Linked DNA regions of Homo sapiens: region 2 is linked to region 1. Evidence: promoter capture Hi-C in human tissues and cell types (Jung and others, 2019). All regions are on one chromosome and are shown on one strand. Each heading gives the region's core, a stretch centred on a gene start or on the middle of the fragment in contact. The rest is flanking DNA. Distances are from core to core; before and after follow the strand shown. Region 1 holds the start of UMPS (uridine monophosphate synthetase). Region 2 overlaps SLC12A8 (solute carrier family 12 member 8).

The links. The method cuts DNA at HindIII sites, captures the fragments that hold promoters and counts their contacts. A contact is called where the count stands out against the background at its distance.
Region 2: a fragment that was not itself captured here is called in contact with the fragment with the promoter of UMPS in region 1 in 1 of the 25 tissues and cell types used here (dorsolateral prefrontal cortex).

What each region holds. Positions count from the first base shown.
Region 1 is chr3:124,729,034-124,731,733 of GRCh38, reverse strand. UMPS (uridine monophosphate synthetase) reads right to left here and starts at 1,282. Exons shown (of 6, transcript NM_000373.4): 1 at 1,107-1,282. The coding sequence starts at 1,262. RefSeq lists enhancers at 1,203-1,612, 1,025-1,624. The HindIII fragment of the contact is 9,650 bases long and covers 1-2,700 here.
Region 2 is chr3:125,176,835-125,179,534 of GRCh38, reverse strand. It overlaps SLC12A8 (solute carrier family 12 member 8), which reads left to right. Exons shown (of 14, transcript NM_024628.6): 5 at 1,561-1,792. Among named protein-coding and RNA genes, the nearest start is that of MIR5092, 27 kb to the right of the region's middle. The HindIII fragment of the contact is 7,457 bases long and covers 1-2,700 here.

The sequences.
Region 1 (2,700 bases), core at 33-2,532:
GTAGAGACAGGGTTTCACCATGTTGGCCAGGCTGGTCTCGAACTCCAGACCTTAAGTGATCCACCCGCCTCAGCCTCCCAAAGAAAGCCTCCCAAAGTTGGGACTACAGGCATGAGCCCCTGTGCTCACCCGAGGCAAGAAGATCTCTTAAGCCCAGGAGTTCCAGGCTGCAGTGAGCTATGATCACAGAGCTGCACTCCAGCCTGGGTGACGTAAGAGAGATCCCATCTAAAAAATAAATAAATAAAATAATAACACAAGCGATTGATTAGCTATACATTGTTCTTTGTATCACACATTCCAGGTACATTAAGATAATGGGAGAGGCAGCTAGTCAGGGACAAAATTCCTTTAAATAATTGTCCCGGGGCTGCATAGGGGAGTATGGTTGAAGTCTCTCTGGGCTCTGATAAATTTTGTATACATCACAGAGTTCTGGTTGTTCTATTTTCCTTTTCTCACCAGTAATTTCCCAGCTACTGAATTCTCTGCCTACCCACGTTTTCCCGGTCTATTTGTTTGTTTTTTGAGGGCAGGGTCTCACTTGTCGCCCAGGCTGGAGTGCAGTGGCGCAATGACAGCTCATTGCAGCCTTGACCTCCCAGGCTCAGGTGATCCTCCCACCTCAGCGTCCCAGGCGTGCGCCACCACACCCAGCTAATTTTTTGTAGAGACGGGGTCTCGTCATGTTGCCCAGGCTGGTCTCGAACTCCTGGGGCTCAGGTGATCTGCCCACTTAGGCATCCCAAAGTGCTGGTATTACTCTCATGAGGCACCACGCCCGGCCGCAAGTCTAATTTTCTTAAAGAGTTAAATATACAGAATTCATTCAAGTGTGCTTCAGTGCCAGAAAGCGTTCCAAACTGGGTTTCCCGACTTTTGCAAAACACGTGTCTAAGCGTGTGGGTGAAAGAACAGACGACTCTCGAGGAGCCCAACCCCTGGCCTCTGTGCTTCTCATGCTTACTCCCCAAACCAAGAGTAGGGTCGGTCTGCCTGCTTGGCTCTTTTGCTCTCACTCACGGCCCAACTCCTGTCACCCTCTTCCATTTCCTTGTCCTCCTTCCCGCCACCAAGCCCTGTCCTTTCCCTTCCTAGGCCAGCACCTGACTCAGAAGACGCGGTCGAGACACGATGCCCCGCAGATCGATGTAGATGGGGGAGGAAAGCCCGCTCTTCAGCACGAAGTCCCCAAACTTGAAAGCCTGCACGTCGTACAGACCCGTCACCAATGGCCCCAAAGCTGCACGAGCGACCGCCATTGTCGCGCGCTGCCTGTTTGCTTCAAATTCCCAGGCGCCCCGGGCCTCCGGCGCCCCGATGACGTCACCCGCGAAGTCCCGCCTCTTCCGCCTGCCTCGTCTGCAGCTTTCCCGGCTTGCTGCACCCGTGGGTTTCCCCGGGCTCAAGGGTCAGGTGGATGGTAGCGAACCTAGCGCCAGTTTGTGCTTCTCCTGGTTTCTTCTGGATGGGGTCGCTGGGGTTCAAAGCCCAGAACAGCTAGATTGACTGTAGGATCATGAAGTCCCACCTTTCATGAGAGTTTGCATAAATCCTGTCCATTTTTTAATAGCCAATGCCTTCTCGACTAGTTCTCTTAATTATCTCTACTCCTTGGCCTAACATGTTATATTTGCTAGTTATTAGCCAAGATTTACCCCCCATGTTTCTCCAAATAGAATATAAGTTATCAAAGACAGGGACCTTTACTCAATTCTTTTATTAACTTCATAGCATCTAGTACGTGACAGTTCCATAGCAGTTTGCACATAGGAATATATAGCACTTAGATCATTACAGTATTCATTACCTCTTTTGTCTGTACTCTGCTTCCTGGAGGAGTACTTTTTTATTTCCTTTGGCGTACCTCAAATGCTTAGGTAATAGGTGTAGAAAAGGTAAGGGAGGGAAGGAGGAGAGTTAGAAGACGGTTAATTGATTGGTATCAGGGTTATCCAGGAGGATAATATTGCTAGACAATCTGAAAATCCAAACATATTTGGTCTTTACAAATAAATCCCTTAAAGAAATAATCAATAAATAATCTGTACAAATAAATCCCTTCTCCATTGTGTATATAAGGCAATACTTTATTCTAGCTTAAGGAAAATAACCCTTAAATTCACATAAAGAATGAAACCTTGTCATTTGCAGCAAGGTGGATGAACCTGAAGGACATTATGTTAGTGAAACAAGCCAGGAACAGGAAGATAAATACCAAATGTTCTCGCTCATATGCAGAAGCTAAAAAAGTTGATCTCATGGAGCTAGAGAATAAAATAGTAATCACTAGAGGCTGGGAAGGGTAGGGGGTGGTTAAAGGACACAAATTACAGCTAGATAGGAGGAATAAGTCCTAGTGTTCCATTGCACTGTAGGGTGACTGTAGTCAATAATAATTTACTATATATTTTAAAATAGCTAGAAGAGGGGCGTTTGAATGTTCCCAACACAAAGAAAGGATAAATATTTAAGGTGAGGAATATATGAATTACTCTGATTTGATCACTGTACATTGTGTGTATTGAAATAGCACTATGTACCCAATAAATGTGTACGATATCATGTGTCAACTATAACAAATACTTTTTTAAAAAAGAGGAACAGATAAGGCATAGCTGTATAGTGCACTACAAAGAACATGAAGTTTCAAACCAAAACATTTGGATTTTAGTCCCATTCTACTTACTGGCTGAGTGA
Region 2 (2,700 bases), core at 30-2,529, 450 kb before region 1:
AGAATGGGGCCTTGTTCACAAGCTCCTTTCAAATCCAGAAGTTGTATTACCCTTTTGCCTTTACACAAAATGGCTGGAACTCATGGAGCCTGCTTCCCAGAGCACCTTTTATATGATCAGCATATCACAAAGTATTTATTGAATGCTTGCAACATACTTAGCAAATGCAAGTATTTGAAGAGGTACAATCAGCATAAACAATTTTTTAAGATATTTGCATTCTTGGTGGTGGGGTGGGGAGACAAACTTACGTTCATGACATGATAATAGAATATGGAACCAGATAATTAATTGTATGGCCTTAGCAGTTAGCTTACTATTTATTCAGAAAAAGAGGTTGAGGAGAGGCCTCATGGAAAAGGAGGGACTTGAACGAATGAGGCCCTAATAGAATTTGTTCCCAGAGAATGGCAAGGGCAGGGCTACAGTGATTAGAGTGACCAGCTGGCCCTGGGGGCAGTGAAGGACAAACCTGAGGAGAGAAGAAGGCTGAGGCTGAGGAATTAGGAAAAGTGAGACTGATGTTATTTTCAACAATTTAATTTGAAATGATCTTTCAAATATTTCCCAAAAGATAAAATCATGATTCTCAGGCAAATATAAGAAAAACATGTGCCAAGGATTTCATTTCATTTTTTTAAAAAAAGATTATATAACAAATACTCATAGGAAGCCTAACCTGGAGCAGGGATTTTATTTAATTTATGAATTAATGGAGGAGCCAGTAAGATGTTAAAGAGCATCTGCAAAGGATGCTGGGTGGACAGAGGTCAGATTAGTAAATTCATAACTAGGCAGTTGAATAAATAAATGTTAGGATAAGATTGCTGGGTTAGATAGAAAATCAGTTAATGTCTTACAGGACAACAAATCCTAATCTTTTGGGTTATATGTTCCACTGGACAGAAGTTATTTGCATCTGTACTGGAAAAAAATCCATAAGGTAACATGTAACTTTATTAAATCTGGGGCATATAATGCATTTAATCAACAGCAAATAGTGAGTAAAATGAAGTACATTCACCTAGATAGTCCTTGGGTAGCCTTTGCCACATATGACGTTGAAAAAGACGTGCCACTCACTTTTTTTTTTGCTAAGTTTTAGATAATTTTAAAAATAATACTGACCTATAGAGAAATGAAGAAAAATCTGGTTTACTGCAGTGTCCTTTTAAGGCTCTGTAGATGGGACCCCCTGTGTGTTCTTGTTCTATATTTAGTTCTTGAATAACTCGGACTGAGAAATCCGGAGGCCTCTTTAGCCCAGTGTCCCATCTTCTTCCTCCCATAGTCTTTTCATCTTTGTTATCACTGACAGCCAGCTCTCAGCTTGGGTTCCTCCTTCATTCTTTAGTTGAGATGTAGACAAGTAGAAATGGGGCCTGAGGCAGGTTCACGGGTGGGAAGGGCTGGTTTAACCCTGCACTGGTCCCAGGCACTGTGCCTTGGTGCCAGTGAGTGTGTCCGATGGGGGTGCAGGGTTCTCAGCGCTGGGCGGTTCTGCCCATGGGCCCATGGCTTTCTGTCCTGCTGACTCTTCTACCTGGAATCGCATGTCAGTGTGTTGCAGGTGCCATGTATATCACCGGCTTTGCTGAATCCATCTCGGATTTGCTGGGCCTCGGGAATATCTGGGCTGTGCGAGGAATTTCAGTTGCGGTGCTTCTGGCCTTGCTGGGCATTAACCTCGCAGGTGTCAAATGGATAATCCGCCTCCAGCTGCTGTTGCTGTTCCTGCTGGCCGTGTCCACACTGGACTTTGTGGTGGGTTCTTTCACCCACCTGGACCCAGGTAAGCCTTTCAGAGTCCAGTATGTGGCCTTATGGATCTTCACTGCTTTAGAGATGTTTGTAGGTGTGAGTTTGCCCACCCCATCTCCCCCTAACCCCCATAGGCTTTACCTACAATTGGTGTGAGCTGTTCCTGGATCAGGTGAGCAGGTGTGTCTTGGAGCAGCTTCATGAGGCTAGAAGCTCCTCTTCACACAGACATCGCCTAGCACATTTTCTATGTGTCCTTTTATTTTCTTTTTTTAATGTATATTTATTTATTTATTATTATTATACTTTAAGTTTTAGGATAACATGTGCACAACATGCAGGTTTGTTACATATGTGTACATGTGCCATGTTGGTGTGCTGCTCCCATTAACTCGTCATTTACATTAGGTATATCTCCTAATGCAATCCTCCCCCCTCCCCCCACCCCACAACAGTCCCTGGTGTGTGATGTTCCCCTTCCTGTGTCCATTTGTTCTCATTGTTCAATTCCCACCTATGAGTGAGAACATGCGGTGTTTGGTTTTTTGTCCTTGCGATAGTTTGCTGAGAATGATGGTTTCCAGCTTCATCCATGTCCCTACAAAGGACATGAACTCATCCTTTTTTATGGCTGCATAGTATTTCATGGTGTATATGTGCCACATTTTCTTAATCCAGTCTATCATTGTTGGACATTTGGGTTGGTTCCAAGTCTTTGCTATTGTGAACAGTGCCGCAATAAACATACGTGTGCATGTGTCTTTATAGCAGCATGATTTATAATCCTTTGGGTATATACCCAGTAATGGGATGGCTGGGTCAAATGGTATTTCTAGTTCTAGATCCGTGAGGAATCGCCACACCGACTTCCACAATGGTTGAACTAGTTTACAGTCCCACCAACAGTGTAAAAGTGTTCCTATTTCTGCACATCCTCTC